Linked DNA regions of Homo sapiens: regions 2, 3, 4, 5 and 6 are each linked to region 1. The links are contacts of gene promoters, found by promoter capture Hi-C in blood cells and fetal thymus (Javierre and others, 2016). All regions are on one chromosome and are shown on one strand. The core of a region is centred on a gene start or on the middle of the fragment in contact, and the rest is flanking DNA. Distances in the headings are between cores, read along the strand shown. Region 1 holds the start of PLN (phospholamban). Region 2 overlaps GOPC (golgi associated PDZ and coiled-coil motif containing). Region 3 holds the start of GOPC (golgi associated PDZ and coiled-coil motif containing). Region 4 holds the start of NUS1 (NUS1 dehydrodolichyl diphosphate synthase subunit). Region 5 overlaps SLC35F1 (solute carrier family 35 member F1). Region 6 has its middle 25 kb from the start of FAM184A.

Region 1 (4,436 bases), core at 751-3,250:
GCAATATTTTATTATTTCTTAATCTCACTAATTAAAGATATGATTATATACCCAAATGTGATCATTTTCCTTTATGCCTACTAAAATACAAATAAAATGGATTTGATATTTGAGTTTTAGGAAATGATAGTGCTGTCACGCCTTTTAGTAAAGCAAGTACTCTGGCTCTTTCATGCGTTTTTAAAACTTAATGCTTCTTAATTTAAACATCTTTCATATTTTTTCCATTTGATTTCATCTAACACTTTTTTTAGCACTTACTTTGAAACCACATGTCTTCATAAACAAAGATAATACTTAACTTGCACCTTAAGGTATAGATGAACTAGTTGGGACACAATGTATGGTACTACCACATTATATTTGAAATTTTAGCAGTCTCTGTAACTGTAATTTCTGTTAACTGAGACATACTAGTGAGCTAAGGGTAAGTTTAATATAATTTCTGCTCTATCCAGAAGTATGTGTACTTTTTAGAGTAATATGTGATATAGCAAAATTCTGATACAATAAAATAACTCGTGAACACCCAATTTGAAGTGTGAGAATGTAATTTGATAGATATTTGAATAAAAATGCACAAATAACATAAGACACCTACACTGAATGACTTTTATGTACTATCAAAGGAAAAATATGAGTATAGAGATATGGAGACACAATTAGGATACCTCAGTGGTAGACAAAAATTATGTTTTTTTATGTCTTAAGGAAAGCTGCTTACAGAGTTACAAAGTTCTTATTTGTAGTGAGCAATAGAATTAACATTTGTCATAGGAATTGAGAATTTTAGAGATAAATTTTATTTTAACATATATATGAAATATGAAAATCAAAATAAATAAAATATATGTAATTTTCTGTATGCCCTGACAGAGATCTAAGAATGAGGAAACGTTTCATTTACTAAATTGAGGATTGTAACATAAAGAATAGGGTAGAATTCAAACAGAAGTCATAAAATTGATTGTGGCATCTCCATTCCTGGCATTTATTTTATTTTTTCCTTTCTTTCTAAATCCGAGAGAGGAAATGGAGTACCACTGGAGGATAATAACTTGACAAAACTATAGGCATTAATAGGCAGAAATCCATTTAATCAAATTTGTGTGAAAATAAGATAGTTAAGAATATTCGTGTGTCAAAATAACTTTTTAAAGTATCAAATTATTCTCTAACGTCAGATTTTTTGTGTTTGTGAACATTGTTTTAAAATTTCTAAACTTCTTTATGATACAATATTGAATTTAATATCAGTAACTCAATTTATTAATAGCATGGAATTTTTTTAGAAATGTTTGTTAAAAGTTGACTGGACTTTAGAGGGGAAACATCCTCAAGGGCACTTTAAAAGTAGCTTGTATTATATATTCTGAAACTCCATTTCATTATTCACTGTATGAAATTATGATAATATTGGAATAGGCATGCTGATAATGTGCATGTTGTAGTCAAATGACTATTCATATTAGTTCAGATGTAAATAGCTCAGTTCTGCACTGTTTCTCAGCAGAGCAATAAATAACAAAATTAAGTCATTGTTTTTGCATGGAGAAATTAACCACTACTACCAAATATGGTAACATAATTGGAAGATTTTTTAATTGGCAGAAATTCACATTTGAAAAGCAAAATAAAAGTGAAAGATAAATTTAAATGACAAACCAGTAACCAGGATCAAAGATGAATATGACCTTTTTCATTTCAAAGTTGTCTCATTTTTCCTGTCACTAAATGGATAAGCATTTATAAATTTAAGCACTTTGTCATGTCATTTTATTGCCTAAGATTGAACTGATATTCATAAAATTAACTCATTTTAAAAGTTCAGATTATAGAAATTATAGGAATTAAGAATTATAGAAAGTAAGAATTACCAAAGTCAGCGAAATCTGTTTCTTACCTTGGCAGCTGTGATCATCACAGTATAGAGTATTGTGTTGTATGAAGTCTTACGGGTGTTTAGCTGGGGAGTTTTCTGACTCTGTCACCCAGTTTATGGGAACAGTTGCAGTAGGTGGAGGAGAAAAAGTGTTCTAGGGAGGTCTTATGATGTCACATAGGAATTCTGAAGTTTCGATTGGTTAGCCACAGTCTCAGTCTTATCACAACCAAACTTTAGAACTTCTTACTTTAGGTATGGAAAAGTCATTAACACTTTGTGCTTCATCTTTTGTTTTTAATTTAAAACAGTATATGGTAGATAAATGAAAAAAATAAGTAAACTTGAGGTGGTGGAAAGCTTTTGTTAAAGATTCATGCATCTTCAGGCTTAGAGATAATTGAATATTAATGGTGAAGATGTTGAAGAGCTAAAATAGTTACTGCAGGAATTTTAATTATGAGAAAAATAAACACAGGTATAAGCAAAACAACTTTCATTGAATTCTTGCTGCTGTTGCTTTAATACGTGTCTTCATAATGTTAGCTTTTAGTGAAAGTGAAATATTTTTACACAATAAAATTTTATACCTGTTTTCTTATTTTGTTCTTGTTCTTGTGTGTATGGGAGAAGGAGTATGAGAAAATCAGGCTAATTGCTTTTTGTTTTAAAAAATTATTTTTATCTTACAGTTAAAGAACTAATAAATGTATTTAATTCATTTGTGTTTTCTTCAATTAGCAGTTTAACAATATATTTGTGAATAGTAATACTTATATTTAAACTGATACATACAACACCCCCAAAATAGCAATATGCTACTTTAAGTATTTAAGATTTTTTAAAAACAATTGCATTAAATTATTACACAATCTTACCAAATTTTTAATAAACTGATGCAGTATTAAGGGCAACTTTATGGCAAAAAAGAAATAATTACAGATTCCAAATCAGTTACATCTCAGTTAATGAGGCTTTATAGGTTTGATGTGTTGAAATTTAAGTTTTGTAATGTTTTTGAAAGGATGTGCCTCATTTAATCTAGCAGTTGCTTTCCTGAAAATTACTATAAAAATGAGATGCTAGTAAGTGAGATGATATTTTGAACTTCCTAGAACAGTTTATCTTACAGTAGAACTGGGGAAATAATTTTTTTGTAAAGCCGGGCATCATTCTCCTCTTCTCTGTTTATCTAATTTGTTGTCTTAGATGTTAGATTTACTTAAGTCACCACACTCGAAAATATTAATTCTTAAATCTCTTCTTTAATTTTAGAGGAGGTACTTGTAATTTTTAATTTTTTAAATGCTTATGACAGAGTGAACTTAGCCCACTTCACTTTCTTATGGGTAACTAAAATGTGTAGCAGCAGCTGCTTACATGCCCTTAAATGGAAATGATCTTGGCTTCTTCCAAAGAAAGAAAATCCATCTCTAGAGCAAATCATTTGATATTTAAAGAGTCAGCTTAAAACTAACTGAAAAATAATATTTTAGCAAAGATATCCTGTGAACATTGCCAAGGGAAAATTTACAACTTAAAAGTAAAACCCAAGTTAAGGAAATTGCAGAATAATGTTTGATACTTTTCTCAGTGCTACAACCATTTTTCTTTCAATCCTTACATAATGAGGATCTCTCAGTACTATCAGTTACCAATGATGATTGATAATACAAAACCGAGAAGCCTAACGAGGTTTACAGTAATTTGTCAGAGATAACCAGCTGCTAAAGAATAGACAGGATTCAAATCCAGATCTGTCTGTTTATAATTCCTAATCTGTTGGCATGCTGTGGGAAAAAATTATAATTTGAATATAGCTTTCATTAGAGTAGCATATAGTAACTGAGAAATTTTTAAGATGTAAATAGATGCATTCTTGAGCACTGTTAATAGTTTTAGAAAGTCTGCTTTAAGTTTGTCTACCAGTTACACATTCATTTGAAATTTAGGTGATAGATCATTGTTCTGAGAACTTCTCATTCTAAGAAAATAGAATTAGTAATACTTAGTTGGATAAACCAAGAAGCTGCCGTAGACAGAATAAAATATGCCCTAGTTACCACATGTTTATAAGTTTACTTAAAAAGTATACATAGGCATATACACACCTTAGAAGGATACTAACAACTGTGTGTGACACAGTTGGAAAATGGATTCAAAAATTTACTTTTTAGATTGGTACAAGAGTGGGGAGTTTTTGTGTTTACCTTGTTCCTTTGGGTTAGCTAGTGAAGATGACGATGATGGTGATGATCTCATGTGGAACTCTAGGAAGTATTAGATTTTAGTTTTAACTGAACATTGTTTTTAATTGCCCAAACAGAAAGTTGTTTAATAGGAGTATTAATGAGTTATAGTGTTATCAGTAGAGTGTTCCTCAATGATTCCTCAGCTAGAGGCTAGAAAATTTTTTTGAGGTGCTTTGTCACAGTCTTCATTTGGAGTTACACTATAGTTTGAATGTATTTTTGGTCACATGGCTTTATACAAATAACTTTCCTAAGCAGCCTAATCTGTGGAATAGTATTTGTGATGGTTTAATGACATGAAG
Region 2 (4,436 bases), core at 552-3,051, 990 kb after region 1:
CTATCCAGTCTTACACTTATGGTTGGCCTCAAATCTATTGCATTTATGATAATGTATTATATCTAGTTGAGTTTAATATTTTTTTATTAGCCTGTAAATAAAGATGGCATCTTCTACATTAAAATGATATTGATCTCATTTTTTTAAATAAACATTTTGTTTCCTTGACGTTAAATATTTTGGCTTGTTATTTATTTCTAGTAGTTCTATTATTTGTACCAACATGTCATAAAGTCTGTGCAAAGGACTTGGCTTAATTTTGTGTTATAAATATTGCCAGCTGTTGTTATCTATGAGGAAAACATTGATGAAAGTTAGAAAATCAATCCTGTTTTTAAGATACTATTTAAAAGGGTATTCTTCCATTTTGACATCTAAGTATATATGATTTAGAAGTTCCTAAGTTATATGTAAAATAATTTTTGGAAAATACTTGTAAATGAATTACTTGAGTTATGAACATTTAGAAATGTTATGAACATTAGAAATACATTTTTGTCACTGACTAACCTTGATTTAGTGCTAATACATATATGCTTTCCGTGTGTTGATTTAAGCTCCCAATTCACCAAGTGATTTGAAAAGAAGTCTTTTCCCCAGAATACAACCCCATAGGATATTGGTCAATTTATGAATTTTTTTTTGGTCAGTTTATGAAATTTTAAAGAGAACTTGTATTTTCATTGTTAATCAGTATTTTATTTTAGGTGGTTTTATAACTAACCTTAAAGAAACACTTTAAAAGTATTGCAAATTACCGTGCACTGTTGGTGCTGAATATTTGTTCAATAATGAACCTTTTTCAGGTGTGATTTGAGAGCTATAATCACCACGGCAGCAGCCATGAGAATGCATCTGTCAGTTCTCGTGCAGGAGGGAGCATAGCTTACTGAAGGTCCAGCTGCTGTGGTCTGAAATCCATCCCTGTGTACATGGTGAGGCTATGCTCCTCCATGCTGCTGCCAGTCAGTGACTGATTATGACAGGGATATTATATGATGACTCCTCAACTTTAGCTGGAGCACTCCACGATGGTCTTGCCAAACTCCCTTAGGATTACATTGTAGTCCAAGTTGCTTTCACCCAACCTTCCTTCCTCCTTTCATTCACCTTGGGTCTTAACTCCATTGTGATCTCATTGCCTTCCAGCCTCCAATCAACTCCAGCTTCCTACCTATTTTTCCTCACTGGCATTGCCGTTAATAAATCTGTTGCACAGCAGATCCCTTTTTGGTGTTGGCGTCTGCTTCTTAGAGAGGCTAGATTAACACAAGTGACCATGAGTGAGATTTGAGGAAACAGGTAATAAGATGGGCATTAGGAACCCACCCAAAGGGTAAAGACAGTGACATCTGGTTGGTGAGTATAGTTTATCTAGTCGTTGGCACAAAATCATGGCTCAGTGGCTATTTCACAAATGGTGTGCAGAAAAGAGTTAACAGAACAGGCCTGAACCTGTTGTCTTTAGGTCTGCTTGCAAGGTTGGACCTTGGCTAGCGTCCAGCAATTTGGATATCAGGAGTATTCCCATTATCCCCTTGCTGGTAAGTGCGGTTTACTGTGCCTGAAGTGTTTGTACAAACAGTAGGATTTTTGTTGAACACTTACTTTCCTCTGGGAATCTAGAATTTTGGTACATGCTAGGCAGAGGGTACCTACACTGACTTCCCTAAAACCTTGACTCCTAGGTTCAGTCAGGCAAGCTTCCTAGGTGGACAACACTTGATGTATTGTTACACATTATTGCTAGAGGAATTAAGCATGTCCTGTGTGACTCCATTGGGAAATGAATCTTGGAGCTTGTACCTGATTTTCTTGGGACTGTGCCCATATGCCTTTTCCCTTTCCTCATTTTGCTTTATATTCTCTGTAATAAATCATAATTGTGAATAAAGCTTTGCTTAGTCTGATGAGTCCTAGCAAACCACTCAACTTGGGGAGAGTTTTGGAGACTTGGGACTGAAATTGGAAAACATTTTATTTAAATTGGAAAAAATTATTAAATTGGAAAAAATCCAGCTTATGGAGAGGGGAACTCTCCAGGAGGGTCAGTGATGCAGACATTTGAAAAATGTGGGAGAACAACATCTACAAGAATAGCAGAGTTGGCCGGTTACAGCAGGATTGTATTAATGACCTACAGAAATGGATGGAGGGGGGCAGCTCCCAAGGAGGCCTTACCTCCTACAATGGAGGGATTGAAACAGCTGAGCTTCAGGCTGAACACCTAAGTGTTAAGAGTTGCTGAGTTTCAGACACTTGAATGTTCAGCGAAACCTCTTCTATTTTGTGAAAGTCAAGGCCCTGGTGAGGAAAACCTAGAACCATGGGGAGATCTGGATGGCTGCACCTGAGAGACTTTGCAATCTCTACTGGACTGTTGGTCTTAAGAAGAAGCCCACGCTTCTCTAATAAGACCTTGTACCTTGTCTATGCTCCAAGATGTTACAGAGGCTGCTACTAACCACATCCCTAAGGCAATACCTGCCCCTACCTAGTCTGCTGCCAGGCCTGTAACTAGGGCTAAATCCTAGTAAAGCCAGGATGGGAGATGTGCTGGGCCTGATAAAGGAGAAAAGAAACTACACAAAAAGTGTAAGAATTAGCTAGCACATTCTGGCAAAAACCAAAGGAGTACTCCTAGAACTGAATTTTATATTTTTTATTTTTATTTTTTTTGAGACGGAGTTTCACTCTTGTTGCCCAGGCTGGAGTGCAATGGTGCAATCTTGGCTCACTGCAACTTCCATCTCCTGGGTTTAAGTGATTCCTCTGCCTCAGCCTCACAAGTAGCTGGGATTACAGGTGCGTGCCACCACGCCTGGCTAATTTTTGTATTTTTAGTAGAGACGGGGTTTCACCATGTTGGCCAGGCTGGTCTTGAACTTTCTGACCTCAGGTGATCCATCCGCCTCCCAAAGTGCTGGGATTAGACTGGCCACCGTGCCCAGTCTGGAATTGACTTTTGAGAGTGCTTGATCAGGGTGTAAACTTATTAAAAGAAAGAACTGAAATTAGAAAACATTTTATTTAAATTGGAAAAAATCCAGCAATATGTTGTTTAAAAGGAACATACCTAAAACATAAGGACATAAAAAATTTGAAAGTGAAAGGAGAAAGAATATACACTGGGCATATTTTCTCCAAAAGAACATGGATACAGTTATATTTTTTAAAAACAGACTTTAAGAAAAAAACCATTAGGGATAAAGGTTACTTAAATTCTTAAAGAACCAATTTACTACAATGTTAAATCTATCATCATAGTGGGAGATTGCAACAAAACTTTCAGGCAAATTAGGAAAGAAGGAAGATTTGAACAACAAGCTTGATTTAAAGTTTTAAGAGGGCATTTGGTTGTAAAAGAAATACCTCTGGCGTCTAAGTAAGAAGATAAAAAGTGAGCAAAAAACAGAGATTTTTCAAAAGAAAACATACAAGTGGATGATAAACATGAAAAAAAAAGTTCAACATCACTAATCAGAGAAATGCAAATTAAAACCACAATGAGATATCATCTTACACCAATCAGAATGGCCATTATTAAAAAGTCAAGAAACAGATGTTGGGGAGGCTACAGAGTAAAGGGAGCACTTACACCGTTGGTGGGAATGTAAATTAGTACAACCTTTACGGAAAACAGTATAGAGATTTCTCAAAGAACTAAAAATAGAACTACCATTTGATCCAGCAACCCCACTACTGGGCATATACCCAAAGAAAGAAAGAAATTATATTGAAAAGATACTGGCACTCGTATGTTTATCACAGCACTATTCACAATAGCAAAGATATGTATGGAATCAACCTAAGTGTCCATCAATGGATGACTGGATAAAGAAAATGTGGTAAATATATACCATTGAATACTATTCAGCCATGAAAAAAGGAATGAAATCATGTCTTGCAGCAACATGGATGGAACTGAAGACCATTATCTTAAGTGAACTAACTCAGAAACAAAGTTTACTACCACATGTTCTCACTTATAAGTGGGAGCTAAATAAAGGGTACACATGGACATATATAGAGTGGAATAATAGACGTTGGAGACTACAGAAGATAGGAAGGTGGGAGGTGGGTGAGGGTTGAAAAATTACCTATTGGGTATAATGTTCAGTATTCAGGTGATGGTTACACTAAAAGCCCAAACTCCACCACTACGCAATATATGCATGTACAAAACCTGCACTTCTACCCCCTAAACCTATAAAGATAAAAATATATTTTAAAAAAGGAAGATAGGTAATGGACTATAACAAGGAAAATTAGATAAAATATAGGCCGACACTAAAACTTGGAGTCTATGCGTTGGAAAGGTAGAATTTGCAATTTGGTAAATTGCCAGCAGGGGGCAGCAGATTCCAGATGCATTATTAATTTTACTTTTATTAGCGGTGTAAGGCTTTTTGAAACTCATCAAATAAAATACTCCT
Region 3 (4,436 bases), core at 1,355-3,854, 950 kb after region 1:
TCAGCTGCACCCACACAATGTAGCTGGAAGTTGATTTTTTAAAGAAATGAAATTTATACTCAAGTGTGGTTCATATAAATTAGAGTTACAAGTAATAGAAAATGAGTTATTACAATTTTTGGTAATGGTTCTTATATGTTAATAGATTTGTATATGGTTTCTAACTAGGAAGAAATTAAAAAGAACTTTTGGAACTTACTTGCTAGTTTATTATACTGCTAACTTTTACAAGAAGAAATAGATTCCTTCATTCTTCTGTATTACATGGTTAACAGCAACAACTTAGGAGAAAAAGACACCTAGATTGATATACTACCTCAATCTCTTTCTAGTTTTGTGACCTTACCAAGACACTTAAGCTGTCTGTGACTTTAGCTGTTAAAAAGTGATTACTGGGTGTGGTGGCTCACACCTGTAATCCCAGCACTTTTGGAGGCCTAAGCAGGAGGATTGTTTGAGTCCAGGAGTTCCAGACCAGCCTGGTCAACAAAGTGAGGCTGCAGTGAGCTGTGATCGTGCCACTGCACTGCAGCATGGGCGACAGAGCAAGATCCTGTCTCAACAACAACAATAAAAGACGTGATCATACCTACCTCATAGGATTTTGTAAGGATCAAAGAATTAAAGAAAATAGCATAATGCCTAACACATAGTAAGGACTCAATAATTGAAAGCTATTATAATTGTGGTTCGATGTATTCTCCCCCTGCCCTGCTAATTTTAAATTATTTACTTCGCGTTCCTGAAAATGCATTGCTAACTGTATTATGTGTAGATAAAGTGGCTGGGAGCTTGATAGCTGTAGCAATGTTTTTGCAAATATTGTAGATGAAAATAAAGCTAATTTTGGAAGGGAATGGGGAAAGATGTAAATTTTAGTTTTACATTATTTATTGTGTACTAAAACCTGTATGAAGGTCCCTACTTAAGTCTAAGGTCAGGATCTCATGATCCATTTTGATTAGCTAAGTTTGCTCAAGCCAAAGGACTTTATTGCTTCATGCTAACCAGTCTGCCATGCAGTACAAAGACTGCAATAATAAAATTGTGATTTCTTGCTCCTCAGTTGCCTTGCATCAGCGAAGGGCACACAATGCAGGCTTTGGGTTGTGATTAACCGTAAGGGTCTGCCCCAAGAACAGATAACAGCAGACTGCACTCAGCTAAATATGCTTCTAGGTAATGCAGGAGTTTCCACCAGCCTACTCTAATCACACAGGTTTCTCTTTCCCTTTCTAGGACTGTCTACCCTTGAACTGGAAGTAGGCAGAATGTAAAGAGAGGAGTTGCTGGATACTTTTAAAGGCACTGAAAAATTCAAGTTAAAGTTATAGTTGAGGGGTAGTAGCCTCACTAGCCTATCTTGAGTAAGGGTCATGTCTCATTCATTTTTGTGTCTTCAATGTCGCAACAGAGCTCTGCATTCAATATATTTGTAAATATATGAATTCACAATTTTGATTTTCTGAAATGTCACGTGTGAGGACACTACCAGTTTTCAAATAAATACACCTTTTAAAGTACAGTTATGTGCCAAATAACAAGGCTTCAGCAATGAATGGATCGCATAAACTATGGTGATCCTATAAGAGTATATGACTGTACCTTTTCTATGTTTAGATATGTTTAAGTACACAAATAGTTACCACTGTGTTATAATCGCCTACCGTATCCAGAATGGCAACATGCTGTACAGGTTTACAGCCTAAGAGCAATAGGCTACATCATATAGCCTGGGTGTGTAGTAGGCTATACTATCTAGGTTTGTGTTTAAATACACTCTAGGATGTTCCCTAAGGGATGATTAACCTAAGGACACATTCCTAAGAACATATCCCCATCTTAAGTGAAGCACTACTGTAGTTGCTTTTGAAATGTGTGACCTATGGTGTATTAAGAGGAATACCGTGTGCCAAGAAGTGACGCTAAGCGTTTTACCTTACAACTGAGTTAAGTAAAATTTGGAAACTTGGTTTCGAGGTTAATACATGAAAGGCGACACAGGTAGTATGTGACAGAGGGTAAGAATTGAATCCAGGTCTACCTGACTCTTAATCACAAGACAAAAAGTCTTCTATTAATTCCGCAAAATCTGGTCAGCCGCTTCAATGCGCAGCTTTAGGCAGTCCACACCTGGAATTTGGGGTCTGGTTTACCAAGAACAGCCAGTGTGTACACCCACTCCATCCTATCCAGGAACTGGAATCGAGAAGGTAAAAACGTGGCTATTGCGCATGCTCACACCGCCCTTCCTTGCTCTCCCCTCCCTGACCCTAGATGCCACCGCAGCAACTTTCTGGGAGGATTTTGGAACGGCTCCCGCCAACTGTTAAGTCAAACCGGCGGAAATCCTTCCTTTCTGCGACGTGGACACCTTTCTCATCCTCGGGCCTTTCCAACCAGGGTGCAGAAACCACGCGCCTCCGTTTCTCAGGGATTCAAGCCGTAGTTTGCCAGTTGTTAATATGGCCGCTGACAGGCCGCTCCCAAGCTGAGGCCTTTCATAGGCCAAGATCGCATCCTGTCCCCGCCTATTTTGTCCCTCGTGGCTGCGTCCGCCCAGCTCTTCGCTACGCATGCGCAGCGGGGGCAGGCTGGGAGGTGGGACTGACTGAGTCTTCCGTGTGTCGCCGCCGTTGCCGCCTCAGCTTCAGCCTCGTTACTCCTGCGGTTCTGTGACTGTGCTGCTGGCGTTAACGGCGCGAGGTGAAGGGAGGTGACGGAGTGTGCCCGCGCGCGCGGGGGTCCCCTCAGTCCCAGCAGTTCCCTTCGTGCGCGGGGGGCGGCGAGGGTCTTCAGCAGTCGGGAGAGGCCCTTGACGGCGCCATGTCGGCGGGCGGTCCATGCCCAGCAGCAGCCGGAGGGGGCCCAGGGGGCGCCTCCTGCTCCGTGGGGGCCCCTGGCGGGGTATCCATGTTCCGGTGGCTGGAGGTGCTGGAGAAGGAGTTCGACAAAGCTTTTGTGGATGTGGATCTGCTCCTGGGAGAGATCGATCCAGACCAAGCGGACATCACTTATGAGGGGCGACAGAAGATGACCAGCCTGAGCTCCTGCTTTGCACAGCTTTGCCACAAAGCCCAGTCTGTGTCTCAAATCAACCACAAGCTGGAGGTGAGCCGTGGGTGCTGGCGGCTATGGCATCCAACCCCAGGCTGCCCGGTGGCGTCAGATGCCATTTAACGCTCCAGTGAAACGACCCTAGAAAACTGCCCACCGGGGCTTCAAATGTGATGGGAGAGTGCATGTCTGAGGAGTGAGGTGAGGGTGGGGGACAAAAAGGGCCCTAGACCGACGTGTGAGTTCCCGGGGTACTGTCGTCCACCTTCCTAGTATCTCTCTGAGGAGGAAACTAATTACATACACCAGCCTCCATTGCACATGTTACATTAACAAACCTAACAAAGATTCTCTGTCATGAAAATACCGTAGGCCACCTTTTGACAACTGAGTTTTGCAGATCTGCTTTCACATTGATAAACCGAATTTGTATATGTTAAGACAGATACAGCACTGATTATTTTCATTTTAATTATTCCAGGTCAGCGCCTATGATTGCATACAGAGACATGCATAAACTATTTAGGGGAATCTGATCAAAGCTCTTAGGAAAATTTCGTGGTGCATAACGATAGTATCACTGTCTCGGTTTACATCCATAGTTGGTTGTTAAATTACAGGCAGATACCTCCAGAGAGCTCCCTGCAATTATTGAAATTACTTCTGACCTTGAGTTTTTATATGCTTGTACATTACTGTGTAATTTTCCAAAGTCTGGATTTATTTTTGAGAGAGTGTAAAGAATCATTTGCTTTAATCTCTGATCCTGGGTGTGGGTGAGGGTGGAGTGGCTGTGGTTCAAAAAAACAAAAATATCATATTGTGCAGAAAATTTAAAAAGGACATTATTAAAATATTTAGAAATCAAGATAGATTAACATTATTGCATAAAGAGTACTTTCTAACTAGGCAATTTAAGAGAATGGGTCTTTCTTTTCAAAAAGTGTAATAGATAAAAATGGGATAATCAGTGATGTGCAAAACTCTGAACATGCTTTCCTAAGAAATCATCATTACTCGTTGTCATTGACAGTGCCCATTATATCTATATCAATATGAATGTCAGTTAAACATCCTCTCCTTGCCTAGTGGTCAGCATTCTTTCTCTCCTATTAGCCATGAAATATGTGGCATAATTAATCTTTGATTAACATAGATTTACATATCCAAGAATTGTGGCTCTTCTCCACTGCGAGAACTGTTAATTTCTTCTATCCTTTTTGAAAAGATTAGAAAGTGCTAATATGAAGGTAATCACTTCTTACTGTAGGTAAATGAAAACATCTCTTGATTTCTTTATTGGTAGTAATTTCCACAAGAAAGCTATTTTTCTCAGATAGTGAAATTGCATTTAATGTTTTCTAGAAATAGTACTTTAA
Region 4 (4,436 bases), core at 866-3,365, 870 kb after region 1:
TGCACTTAAATTTACCAATCTGACAAAGATGTATGCCTCTCTAGAGCACACAGGTAATTTATTGAACAGAGAATAAAACTTTTGTTTTCTTCCCTTCATACCAATACTCTTAAATCATTCTTCTCACATCTTTAAAGAAATTCCAATGCTTTCAAGATCTGATTGAAAATCAAACCTGACATCCCAAACCTGAGTATTCCTCAACTTATCTCCTACCTATTCTTCAAGGTCCTGCTTAAATCCCACCTCCACTGCATGAACTTCTCAAGTTCCTTCATTCACAATTTCTCTCCTCTCTTCTCACAATAGTAATTTTACTCTCAACACTTCTTGTTATTAACCATGTCAAATATGTGAGTGTGTGCCTACCTCCTAACAAGCCTGAGAGTCCATGGAATTAAATGCAAGATTCCAAGGAATATGCCTAGCACAGTGCTTTAGGTTTGTAGCTACCCAATAAGTACTGAATTTTTGTACTTACAAAAACTCCCTATGGTGAAATTCATTCCCTCAATCAAAACATATGAGAGGACAATTCTATCAAGTACTGTGTTGGGCACTGATGATGAAGGATCACAAACCATCCCAGCCTTCCAAGACAGAAAGGGACCATTTTCTTTTCTGCCTATCCAATCTCTCACATATTTTTCATAAACCCAGTTCAAATACCACCTGACCCCCACCGCTCCCATTTGCAGTACCTATCACACAGCCCATGCCTAAGTCCTCTATAGCCTCACTGCGACTTAAGAACAGCGCCTGGAAGCTCTCTTAAAGAAACAGTGTGGTGTAACCAAAGGCAAAGATTGTGAAAAAGCACAGAATGGCTAAAATTCCAATATCCTCATTCCGATCTTTGTGGCCCCATTACGATCTTGTGGCCTTGGGCAAATCAGTTAATGTTTTTAAACCTTGGCAAGGGTATACAAATACCATCTACATTACTGCAGTATTATAACGAATAAGAGATTTTTTATTTATTTTTATTTATTTATTTACTTATTTGAGACAGAGTTTCGCTCTTGTTGCCCAGGCTGGAGTGCAGTGGCGCGATCTCGGCTCACCACAACCTCCGCCTCCCGGGTTCCAGCGATTCTCCTGCCTCAGCCTCCCTAGTAGCTGGGATTACAGGCATATGCCACCACGCCCGACTAAACTTGTATTTTTAGTAGAAACGGGGTTTCTCCATGTTAGTCAGGCTGGTCTCGAACTCCCGACCTCAGGTGATCCGTCCGCCTCGGCCTCCCAAAGTGCTGGGATTACAGGCATGAGCCACCGCGCCCGGCCAAGGGATATTTTTAAAATGTTAAAAAGCTACTGAGTCAAATCCAGAGAATTAGTAGGTGTTCAATAAAGCTGATCTCCCTTCCTCGAAAGCGCTAGCGCTGTGATTTGCAGAGAGGCCGCGGCAACTCGTGCCATGGGCACCACCCGCCAGACCAGCGGTCTAGCGGTCCAAGACGCCTCGGCCACCCCCCACCACCGCACCGGGCCTCACCTTGGTGGTCGTAGACGCTAATGTAGGAGATGCCCACGGCCATACACCACACCACGAGGCTCGCGATGTCCGAGAAGCTGGGTTCCTGCTCCACCTCGGTGATCACCAGGCCCATATGCACAGGCAGCTTCTCCAAGGAACGACCGTCCGCGCGCCAGCGCATCCGGTGGTGTGCGGCTGCCAGGCACGACCCCCCGCGCGGGTGCCGGTGGTGACGGCGGTTCCTGCCGACTGCCGGGGGCTTGCGGAGCGTGAAGCCGAGCGGCGCTAGGACCGCGGCAGAGGCGGCGCGGCAGCAGCGCCGCCAGATCCAGTTCCAGGTGCCGAACCGAACGCGGAGCCAGGAGGTGAGCGTGCGGTGCAGACAGAGCAGCGCGTGCAGCACCCGCCACACCAGCTCGTACAGCCCCGTCATACTCTTGTGGCCCTCAGACACCCCCTCTCCCTCCCGCCCACTCCCGCAGCGCGACGGCTTTTTATCCGCCCCTGCGGCCGGCGCGGGCCATCGCTCCGCGTCCCCCCGCCCCCCGAGCCCGAACCCCTTTCCACTGCCAACACCTCACCTCGCCCCCGCCGCCATCTTCCTCCTCCCTTGGCAGCCCCGCCCCCAGTAGTACATGGACAGTTCCGATTGGCCAGCGTGGAATTCTGACGCGGCTTCTGGGTCCGAGAACGTGGCCCGTTCCGGCGCAGTGAGGGAAGGCGCACGCCTGCGAACTAGCCGGGCCGATACCGCGGGCGCCCCCTGGTCGCGTGGAGGGCGATGAGCGAACGACCCGGGACTTGTCTGAATGGGACCCCAGCAAGGCACACGTGGTCTTCAATGCGATGGGCGCTTCCAGGGGACCCGGCGTCCCTTGGGTCCAGGAAGTCTTATACTGTCTCCTCTCACGGCCCCGACAGAAACGGTTTCTGAGGAGTAGAAGTGTCCTAAGTGGATTGGAAATTACAAATGCCGGAAAGAACCTAGGGATGGAAAGCAGCCCTCAGTAAGTGTTGATGCTGGGAATCCACCAGGGTTTCCAAAAGTGTCCTCAAAGGCTGGAGTGATCCTGCTACTGTCCTTTATTCAGCCTCCCGGCTGAGGCTGGGAGCGAGGCTCTTTAGCCATGTTCCTGAAACACCCCTCTACCCATGTCATTCTCATCTAAGGTATCCTTTCCTGGCTGTACATTGCTTAATAGAGGCTCTACAGCTTGGCAGTCCAGTCACTTAATTCTTTTTTTTTTTTTTTTTTTTTATTCGGCAAGACTTTGACCAACCGCCGTGGGTTAGGTTTACAGTGGGGAAAAAAAATAGAAATTGTGCCTGACTTCAATGACCGCCACTATTTGAAGCAAACTGCCCATCCAAGCCTTATCATCCCCTTTAACACCCTAATGTTTCTGTCCATGTGGACTTCGACGTGGTCCTCTAGAATGGTTTTGTACTTCCCCGCGGTAAGTCTGTACTGTCTTTGCCCTTTTTGTTCAAGCTCTTCTCCTGAATTCCTGATTCCCGACTTGGTATTGCCGACATTCCAACCCATTTCTCAAGGTTTATCCTACATGCTACATCCTCTATCATCATATATATGTGTGTGTGCAACAATAATATTTATATTATTTGCATTTATATTTATATAAGTATATATATAAAGATTAGGGAGGTATTACAAAAATGCAACTGTACACATACACACGTATACACACATATTTACACACGTGTGTGTGTGTAAACAGTTGCGTTTTTGTAATACCTACCTATTCTTTGTTCGCTAAAGCCTCTTTTTCCCCCTGGGAAACATCTGTTCACGTCTTGGCTATGTGACTTAATTTTTCTAACATTGTCACTTTTTCAACTAGTCTCATTTTGGTTTCTAAGACTCATTTAACTTTACTTTAAAAGTTGAATCTCATGTCCATCTCCCTTTCGCAGTGCAATTTTCCTCCCTTTGGCAGTGCAGCCTGAAGAACTGAGGGCTGGGCACCAGGCACACCCTTCACACACTTCTTTCTCTCCAGGTCTCCTCTGCGGTAGCTCCTCTGATGATGGACAAAGAAGGAGAGGCGAAAGGCCATGATCAGGGAAGCCTACAGTCTTCTTCCTCACTGCCCATTGCTGTAGTTTATGCAGCTACATGATGCTTGTTAAGGAAGCTCCCTAGACACCAGTGTCCCATTGAGATTTGGCCACGTATTCTGCAGACCCCACCCCACCCCCCATGCCGACTATGTTGCCACATTTCTCTACCGTACTCATTTCTTTGCCCCAATGTCTATCCGTTCTGACAAGATTAAAGACATCAATCTCATGTTCCCGTGGCCTGCTCTCAGGTGTGCAGGCACAAACAGGCTCTATCTTCTGTATTTCTTTTTTCCTTTTTTTTTGAAACGGAGTCTCGCTCAGTCGCCCAGGCTGGAGGGCAGTGGTGCGATCTCAGCTCACTGCAGGCTCCGCCTCCCGGGTTCACGCCGTTCTCCTGCCTCAGCCTCCCGAATAGCTGGGACTACAGGTGCCCGCCACTACGCCCGGCTAATTTTTTGTGTGTTTTTAGTAGAGGCGGGGTTTCACCATGTTGGTCTTGAACTCCTGACCTCAGGTGATCCGCCCGCCTTGGCCTCCCAAAGTGCTGGGATTACAGGCGTGAGCCACTGCGTCCGGCCCCTGTATTTCTTTGAATTGCAAACTTAAGCAAAAGGATTCTAGCCACATGTCCATCTGACACACTCACATGCAGATCCTGGCGTCTCTCCCCAGACATTTGCTTGCTTTCCTCCTAGAGTTTCCTCCTAGTAGCAGGTCCCCTAGCTCCCAGGATGTTCAGCCTCCTAAAGAGTGGTGGGGCGGCGGTACCCACTTTTCTTCTCTGTCAGCTGTCAGTAGGCTAGGGATGGAGGGTCTCATACAGAACAGTTCTCTGGGGGCCTTGAACCAACACAGTTCTTCCCCTTTTCTC
Region 5 (4,436 bases), core at 1,437-3,936, 570 kb after region 1:
TTTCACCATGAGGGAAGACAAAGAATTGTGCTCACTAGACAAAGAAGATCACACTCCTTAAAGTAAAATCATCTCAGAATTCCTGATTATTTAGATTTTCAACATACAATGCATTTGTATGGGAAAGTGCCTGACATTCAATAGATTTACAGCTTGTCTTAAAATTCATGAGAGGCAACGTGAATGTTCTGTACTACTGCCACTGCGTGGGAAGTTATCACAGTGGAGGACGTGATAATCTACCTTTTGGCGAGTACGATGTACTGTGCTCACATGTAAAAAGCAGAATTTCCAGAAGAGGGATCAAGTCTTTCAGAAATGATAGAAGATAGTAACTTTTCTAAATTCTTAAAGAGTCATAAATCATTTCTTGAAAAATAAAAATGATGAAAACAACTTGTTAGCGCAGGAACAAAATAAAATTGGAGATTATTTAGAATACAGACTACAACTTCAGCATAGCACAGAGCACTTGTAGAACAGAATAAGTTCCCTTTTACATAGGTTAGTAGATTCCCGTCTACAAAAATAAATAAATAAATAAGAGAATCACATCTCCTATCACTCTAATCTGGGAGTTTTTAAAATTACACCTTACTATAGTAATTTCACATCTGATTGACAGGTTAAGATACACAATTAATTCTAAAACATCAAAGTGGGAGGGAGATCATACTAAAATGAAAAAAAATTTTCAAGGCATTAGGTCCTATAGTATTCTTCAACAACACTGCCAGACTTTTCCTGGGATGCTGCCAGCCAATCCCAGGTCAAAGCTTAATTGGCATTCCCAGTTAGCGGACTCTAAATTTGAGAAAGGCCACACATTGTCTTTAAGCATTTATAATGCAGTTAACTCTAATCAAAATTTCTTTATTTTTGTCAAATAACTTCAACAAACTTTTTTTCTAGCTATTTAATGTTCTCATTTATTTGAGGATGGGCATTAGCACTGAAGGGTGAGTGAATGACATTGGAAAATCATTTTAGTCAACTTGTTTCTAAACATCAATGGAAGGAAGTAAACATTTCCATCTGTTCAGCTCATTAGTGCTGATAAATGGAGATTGCAAAACTCAGAGGCTATGGATTCCTAATGGACTTGACTTACATCAGTGGCTCTCCAAGTGTGGTGTGGGAAATCCCTAAGATCCTTTCAAGAAGTCCAAACCTTCAAAACTACTTTCATAATCATACTAACACATTATTTGCCTTTATCACTCTCATTCTCCTACAAGTATACAATGCAAGTTTTGCAACAGATTGATGCAGAAGCAGATATGTGAGTCCACTTGTCTTCTATTAAGTCAGACATTAAAGAGATTTGCAAAAATGTAAAACAATGCTACTCTTCTCACTTTCTGTTTTATTTTGGAAAACACAATTTAAAAAGCATTATTTAGATTAACCCACATGGGCTTACTTTTGTTCTTTGGACATGTCATAAATATTTTTAAATTCCTCTATTTTAATTTATAATGTAATGAATATAAATTGAGATAATCCCACAGAAACCAAAGCTCTTTGGGTCTTTAATAATTTTAAAGAGTGTAAATGAGTCCTAGACCAAAATTCTTAAGAATAGCTGTCACAGATCTCTTATTTTGATTCAGCATTAAAAAGTTATATTAATGTTGAGCTCAGACACTCCAAAAAATCTTTCCAGATTTTCAGAATCAAAGCAACCTCCTGCTGTGCTCCAGAGTTCAAAGGCATTTTTGACTTTATGCTACTCAAAATCCAAATTAAATTTCACTTCAGTGCAGAATAAGAAATTTTCAAATATCATTCATTCATCCATTCAATAAAAATTTACTGAGTATCTATCATGTGAAAATACAGCTATGTTTGGAACATTGCTAGTCTGGGGAAATAAAATGGTATCTTTTCAGACTAAAACCATATATGCCCTGCTCCTAAATAGTAAGACCTAACACTGATTAAGTATATGCTAAGTGCTAGACCTTGTACTAAGTGCTTAATGGCATAACTAATTTATTTCTAACAAGAACCCTATGTATTATTATTATTCCTATTTCATGGATGAGGAAACTGGGGCATAGAGAGATTAAACAATTTGTCCAAAGAGCTGACAAGTGGCAGAGCCAGGATTCAAACCAGCAGAATCTCTGCATATAACCTCCCCAGTAAAACTGGCACCATCCAGCAGGGTACTGGGCCTGGATATGCATACCAGCTGCATGTAACAGAGCTAAACCCAAAGCAATGTCAAGATTCACTGGATGTAGTTTACCTTGGCAGAGCTGGAAGAAACCATAACTTTGAGTTTACTGTTAATTCCTGGATTCTGACTATTGGACTAAAAAATTAATTGATAGGTACTTCTGGTCATCCTTCACTTATTCACAGTTATAAAAGTTGTGAAGAAATGGCCCTAATATTACCCATAATCCTAAAGTATAGTTTCTATAAAACAAGTTTTGACCAGCTGGGCATGGTGGTACAAGATTATATTCCCAGGTACTGGGAAGGCTGAGGCAGGAGGGTCTCTTCAGCCTAGGAGTTCTAGGCTGCAATGAGCATGACTGCATTCCAGCCTGGGCAACAGAGCAAGACCTTGTCTCAAAAAAATATATATTAAAAATTAAATAAATAAATAAACAAAATAATAATAAATTTAAAAACAAGTTTTGACCTTGCAATGTGGAGAGACCCAGAAAGCATATCATCATCAAACCAGCTCTCAGGAAAAATGTCTACGAACCTTCAGTAACACTTATTTTTAGGTAAATAGATGAGTAAATAAATACATAAATCAGTCATTATGTCCTTTGTCCCCTTACAACCCCAAATCCATATGTTGAAGTCCTAACCCCCAGTTCACTTCAGGATGAGACTGTACTAGGAGATAAGGACTTTAAAGAAGGTAAAATGAGGTCATGTGGGTGGACCGTCATCCAACAGGACTGCTGTCTTTATAAGAAGAGAGAGACTAGGGACACATAGGTACAGAGAAAAAGCCATGTGAAAGCACAGCAAGAAGGTGGCCATCTGCAAGCCAAGGAGAGAGGCTTTGGAAGATACCAAACCTGCCACTGACACCTTGATCTTGGACTTCCAGCCTCCTGTGAGATATTGTGAAAAAAATAAATTTCTATTGTTTAAGCCTCCTAGTCTGTGGGATTTTGTTATAGTAGTCCTAACAGATACTGTAACAGATAAAACACCAGCCAAACTCTTTCATCCAACTGTATTTTTTAAAATTCCACAATTTTAACATTTATCATAATGCTTGTAAACTTATTAAATTGTAGCATCTAGGTACTTGCCTATGAAGAAAAACAGAAGTATCCCTAATTTTATAATGGGGATCTAGGTATGGGTGGCTGATATGATTTGGCTGTGTCCCCACCCAAACTTCATCTTGAATTGTAGTTTCCATAATCCTCACATGTCATGGGAGGGACCCAGTGGGAGGTAACTGACTCATGGGGGCAGGTTTTTCCCATGCTGTTCTTGTGATAGTGAATAAGTCTTATGAGATCTGATGGTTTTATAAAGGGCAGTTCCCCTGTACACGCTCTTGCCTGCCACCATGTAAGATGTGTCTTTGCTCCTCCTTCGCCTTCTGCCATGATTGTGAGGCCTCCCTAGCTATGTGGAACTGTGAGTCCATTAAATCTCTTTTTCTTTATAAATAACCCAGTCTTAGGTATGTCTTTATTAGCAGCATGAGAACAGACTAATATGGTAAATTGGTACTGCAGAGTGGGGGCACTGCTGTAAACATACCCAAAAATGCAGAAGTAACTTTGGAAATGGGTAACAGGCAGAGGTTGTAACCACTTGGAGGGCTCAGAAAAACAAAAGAAAATGTGGGAAAATTTGGAACTTCCTAGAGACTTGTTGAATGGCTTTGACCAAAATGCTGATAGTGATATGGACAATCAAGTCCAGGCTGAGGTGGTCTCATAAGGAGATGTGGAGTTTGTTGGGAACTAGAGTAAAGCTCACTCTTGCAATGCAAAGAGACTGGTGGCATTTTGACCCTACCTTAGAGATCTGTGAAAACTCAAACTTGAGAGGGATGACTTAAAGTATCTGGCAGAAGAAATTTCTAAGCAGCAAAGTATTCAAAAGGAAGCAGAGCATGAAAGTTTGGAAAATTTGCACCCTGATGATGATATAAAAGAAAAACCCTTTTTCTGGGGAGAAATTCAAGCCAGCTGGAGAAATTTGCAAAAGTAATGAAGAGCCAAATGTTAATCACCAAGACAATAGGGAAAATGTCTCCAGGGCATATCAGAGACCTTCACAGCAAGCCCTTCCATCCATCACAGGCCTGGAGGCCTAGGAGGGAAAAATGGTTTCCTGGGCCAGGCCCAGGGCCCCTGTCCTCTATGTAGCCCCAGACATGGTGCCCTGTGTCCCAGCTGCTATAGCTCTAGCCAGGGCTAAAAGGGGCCAATGTACAG
Region 6 (4,436 bases), core at 879-3,378, 560 kb before region 1:
CTGAGTAATTTATGAAGAAAAGAGGTTTAATTGACTCACAGTTCTGCAGGCTTAATAGGAAACATGACTGGGAAGCCTCAGGAAACTGAATCATGGTGGAAGGCAAAGGGGAAGCAAGCAGGTCTTACCATGGTGGAGCAGGAGAGACAGCGAGTGAGGGGGGAAATGCCACACACTTTTAAACCATCAGATCTCAGGAGAACTCACTCACTATCCCGAGAACAGCAGAGGGGAAATCCACCCCCATGTTTCAATCACCTCCAACCAGGCCCCTCCTCCAACACGTGGGGATTACAATTCAAGATGAAATTTGGGTGAGGACACAGAGCCAAACCATATCAATAGTACAGAAAGTTCCTATATATTCCACACCCAGATTCCCCTGTTGTTAACATTTTATATTAGTATGACACACTATTATTAACTAAAGTCCACATTTTATCCCATTTTCCTAAATTTTTACCTACTATCCTTTTTCTGTTCCAGGATCCCATATAGGATACCATATTACATTTAGTCATCGTATCTCTTAGGCTCTCCTTGGCTTTGATGGCCTCAACAGTTTTGAGTAGTACTGGCCAGTGTTTTATAGAATGTTCCTCTACTGAAATTTACCTTATGTTTTTCTCATAATTAGACTGGACTTAGGGGTTTTGATAGTGAAGATCACAGAAATCAACTGCTATTTTCATCACATCAGATCAAGGGCACATGCTATCAAAATGACTTATCACTATTGACGTTGACCTTGATCACCTAGTTGAGGTAGTATTGGGTAGTAGCTTTCTGCACTCTAAAGTTACAGTTTTTCGCGCGTTTTATAGGGCTTTTTGGAAAGAAGTCTCTATTTGCAGTCCACACTTAAGGAGTGAAGAGCCATTTAATTTTATATGTAAATAAAATGTAATTTATAATTTTGAAAGCATGCACCATTTAAAAAAATGTAATCATCAAAGTCTTGGTAAGTTGTGGCATCTTGACACTTTACACACTTAAGATCATATTCTTAGAATCTTTGTAGGGACATCTTCTGTGTGATACTATTTGCGTGATACCACTTTGGACACATTTTCCCAGGTTCTCAGATTATTTCTCTGACAAGCTTTTATTATCAGGCACTATGGTGGACCCTGGGAATGCAAACCTGAGACATTATCCTTGCCCTCAAGAGGTTTAAGTTCTCATTTTAGAGATTCCACATTCTAAAAGCCAATACTTTCCTCGTTTTTCTTGCGGTGGCATTTGGAATATTTTCAAACATCTTTTTAGAACTATGGTTGGCCAGGCATGGTGGCTCAAGCCTGTAATTCCAGTACTTTGGGAGGCAGAGGTGGGCAGATTGCTTGAGCCCAGGGGTTTGAGGCCAGCCTGGCCAACATGGCAAAAATACAAAAATTAGCTGGGCTTGGTGGCAGGCACCTGTGGTCCCAGATACTTGGGAGGATCGTTTGAGCCTGGGAGGTTGAGGCTGCAGTGAGCCCTGATCACACCACTGCACTCCAGCCTGGGCAATAGGGCAAGACCCTATCTCAAAAATAAAAATAAAAATAAACTTACATAAATTAAATAAAAATATCATCATTTTCCAAAATATGGCACAATACATTATTACCAGAGTAAAGAATGAACATTCCTCTTTTTTTTTTTTTTTTTTTTTCTCTACACGGAGTCTCACTCTGACACCAGGCTGGAGTACAGTGGCTCGATCTCTGCTCACTGCAACCTCCACCTCCTGGGTTCAAGCAATTCTCCTGCCTCAGCCTCCCAAGTAGCTGGGACTACAGGTGCGTGCCACCATGCCTGGCTAATTTTTGTATTTTTAGTAGAGATGGGGTTTCACCATGTTGGCCCAGGATGGTCTCAATCTCTTGACCTCGTGATCCGCCTGTCACAGCCTCCCAAAGTGCTAGGATTACAGGCTTGAGCCACCGTGCCTGGCCTCCTCTCTCTCTTTTTAAAAATATTTTGTTTTCCTGCCTCAGAAAAACATAGATGTGGTTCCTTAGAATTTCCCTGAATTTTTTCCAACAAATGAATTGGACATCCAATTATGCACAATCTTCTAGTTTTGTCTTGCTCATCTTTTATTATTGAAAGAGCAAAGAACGCATGCTGGGATGGAAGGTCTACCACCATCCTAATTCTTGCATCAGCTAAAGTGTCTTTGTCTATAAATTACAAAAAAATCACTCAGCCAGATTGGCTTAAATAATAGAAATTTGTTAACTCATGTATCAGAAAATCCTGAAGTAGTCAGTAAATAGATTTGGGGGGGTTGATGTAGCTACTCATCAATGTCATCTTGGATCCAGCTTCATTTCGTCTTTCCACTCTACACTCATCAGTGTCCTGGCTTCATACTCTGACTGGTAACAAGATGGATGTAGTAGTTTCAGGCATCACATACAGACACAGCAGTGTCCACAGGTAGAAAGCAGGCCCTTCTCTATCCTTGTCATGGACAAGAACCAGGTCCCTGAACCACATGATCATAAACCAATTCCTGGCAGGAGAATAAGAATATCATAATTGATTCAGACCAATTAGGGTTGACTCCCGAGCTGGAGGTTACTCCAGAATTGCATGAAGAACAGATGAATATCTGAGCAAAACTAGGGTCCTGTTAAGAAAGAATAAGAAGGGAGTAGACATTGTATAGAAAACCAAGGCCTACTATATGCTCTTTGTAGCATTTCCTGGCAGGTCTGTCCTACTTTAGAGCTCATATTGTTCTTCTCTGCCCTTTTTTAGTGATATTTTCTTTTCTTTTTTCTTTTCTTTTTTTTTTTTTTTTTTTTTTTGAGATGGAGTCTCTGTCATCAGGCTGGAGTGCAATGGCTCGATCTCAGCTCACTGCAACCTCCTCCTCCTGGATTCAAACGATTCTCCTGCCTCAGCCTCCTGAGTAGCTGGGGCTACAGGTGCATGCCAGCATGCCCAGCTAATATTATGTATTTTTTAGTAGAGACGGGGCTTCACCATATTGGCCAGGCTGGTCTCAAACTCCTGACCTCAGGTGATCTACCTACCTCGGCCTTCCAAAGTGCTGTGATTACAGGTGTGAGCCACTGTGCCCAGCCTATAGTGATATTTTCAAACTCAAGATTTTCTGCTGGTAATAGCTCTCTGCTTTCCTGATACATACTGAAGCTTATTTACTATGATTCCTATTGCCTAATACACCTGATTCTAAGTAGAGATTATTTTAAGCACAGGCCTCCTTCTCATGCCTTATTGGTCTTTAGGGTATAACAATTTTAGTAATAATTGGGGGGAATTAAGAATTCCACTAACTGCTGGCCTACAGCAAATCCTAAAGGGCCAATATCTTACATTTATAATCAGCTTCACTCTTTTCATTGAAAATTATACTCCCAATCTTCTGATGAGGGATGGAAAACAATCTGCTGTTTCCTGTGCCCTGCCCTAACTACTCCTTTTCCATGATAGAATATTATTCAGTTTCTTCCTAGCATTACTCTATTTATGATGCATTTATATACTTTATTTATTTTTATTTTTATTTTTTTGAGATGAAGTCTCACTGTGTTGCCCAGGCTGGAGTGCAGTGGTATGATCTCGGCTCACTGCAACCTCTGCCTCCCAGGTTCAAGCGATTCTCCTACCTCAGCCTCCTGAGTAGCTGGGATTACAGGCACACGCCACCAAGCCCAGCTAATTTTTGTATTTTTAGTACAGACAGGGTTTCATCATGTTGTCCAGGCTGGTCTTGAACTCCTGACCTCGGGTGATGTGCCCACCTCAGCCTCCCAAAGTGCTGGGATTACAGGCGTGAGTCACCGCACCCAGCCTATCCTTTATTCTTTAATTTTTTGTGTGTCTTTATGGTGGTTGTCTCCTACTATGTATCCCACTTGTACCAGCAAGGGATATGAATACAAAAGATTCATATGAAGAATGTTAACATGATTTGTACATATAATTTAAGCATTATTAGTATGTTACATCCCATGCCCACACTCAAGAAATTTGCGCGATTATAGAAGACAAATGTGGGTATGGTGGGAAAAGTACCAAAATTAGAATCAAAAGAGTGAAGTTTGAACATTAGCAACTTGCTTGATTTATGGCCTTACAGGGGAATATTTAACTTATCTTGGTCACTGTTATCCTATAGTAAAGTAAGGCTCATAATATTTATCTCAAGGACTGTTTTGAGATTAAATGAGATAATTGATATGAAAGTGCATTGTGGCTGGGCGCAGTGGTTCACGCCTGTAATCCCAGCACTTTGGGAGGCCGAGGCGGGCGGATCACCGGAGGTTGGGAGTTCAAGACCATTCTGACCAACGTGGAGAAACCCCGTCTCTACTAAAAAAATACAAAAAAAATTAGCCAGGCGTGGTGGTGCATGCCTGTAATCCCAGCTACTCGGGAGGCTGAGGCAGGAGAATTGCTTGAACCCAGGAGGTGGA

What was found. The method cuts DNA at HindIII sites, captures the fragments that hold promoters and counts their contacts. A CHiCAGO score of 5 or more calls a contact.
Region 2: a fragment that was not itself captured here is called in contact with the fragment with the promoter of PLN in region 1 in 1 of 17 cell types (naive CD8 T cells); the score reaches 5.8 in naive CD8 T cells.
Region 3: a contact is called between the fragment with the promoter of GOPC here and the fragment with the promoter of PLN in region 1, in 3 of 17 cell types (naive CD4 T cells, megakaryocytes and naive CD8 T cells). The highest score is 7.7, in naive CD4 T cells.
Region 4: the fragment with the promoter of NUS1 here is called in contact with the fragment with the promoter of PLN in region 1 in 2 of 17 cell types (naive CD4 T cells and naive B cells); the score reaches 8.2 in naive CD4 T cells.
Region 5: a contact is called between a fragment that was not itself captured here and the fragment with the promoter of PLN in region 1, in 10 of 17 cell types (naive CD4 T cells, total CD4 T cells, non-activated CD4 T cells and 7 more). The highest score is 14.8, in naive CD4 T cells.
Region 6: a contact is called between a fragment that was not itself captured here and the fragment with the promoter of PLN in region 1, in 1 of 17 cell types (activated CD4 T cells). The highest score is 5.2, in activated CD4 T cells.

Annotation. Positions count from the first base shown.
Region 1 is chr6:118,545,860-118,550,295 of GRCh38, reverse strand. It overlaps PLN (phospholamban), which reads right to left and starts at 2,000. Exons shown (of 2, transcript NM_002667.5): 1 at 1,904-2,000. The region is part of intron 3 of CEP85L (centrosomal protein 85L); the gene reads left to right. The HindIII fragment of the contact is 6,726 bases long and covers 1-2,244 here.
Region 2 is chr6:117,556,008-117,560,443 of GRCh38, reverse strand. GOPC (golgi associated PDZ and coiled-coil motif containing) reads left to right here. Exons shown (of 9, transcript NM_020399.4): 9 at 1-175. It also overlaps a transcript of DCBLD1 not described here. Among named protein-coding and RNA genes, the nearest start is that of GOPC, 44 kb to the left of the region's middle. RefSeq lists an enhancer at 2,117-2,166. The HindIII fragment of the contact is 192 bases long and covers 1,706-1,897 here.
Region 3 is chr6:117,600,679-117,605,114 of GRCh38, reverse strand. It overlaps GOPC (golgi associated PDZ and coiled-coil motif containing), which reads left to right and starts at 2,604. Exons shown (of 9, transcript NM_020399.4): 1 at 2,604-3,111. The coding sequence starts at 2,827. It also overlaps the pseudogene NEPNP. RefSeq lists enhancers at 2,213-2,502, 2,633-2,722. The HindIII fragment of the contact is 3,398 bases long and covers 1-2,958 here.
Region 4 is chr6:117,673,148-117,677,583 of GRCh38, reverse strand. It overlaps NUS1 (NUS1 dehydrodolichyl diphosphate synthase subunit), which reads right to left and starts at 2,115. Exons shown (of 5, transcript NM_138459.5): 1 at 1,499-2,115. The coding sequence starts at 1,913. It overlaps LOC101927919 (a long non-coding RNA gene), which reads left to right and starts at 2,300. Exons shown (of 3, transcript NR_110854.1): 1 at 2,300-2,487; 2 at 2,749-2,937; 3 at 3,502-4,436. The HindIII fragment of the contact is 6,476 bases long and covers 1-4,436 here.
Region 5 is chr6:117,971,738-117,976,173 of GRCh38, reverse strand. The region is part of intron 1 of SLC35F1 (solute carrier family 35 member F1); the gene reads right to left. Among named protein-coding and RNA genes, the nearest start is that of SLC35F1, 67 kb to the right of the region's middle. The HindIII fragment of the contact is 3,815 bases long and covers 779-4,436 here.
Region 6 is chr6:119,101,150-119,105,585 of GRCh38, reverse strand. It overlaps a transcript of FAM184A not described here. Among named protein-coding and RNA genes, the nearest start is that of FAM184A, 25 kb to the right of the region's middle. The HindIII fragment of the contact is 2,048 bases long and covers 1,105-3,152 here.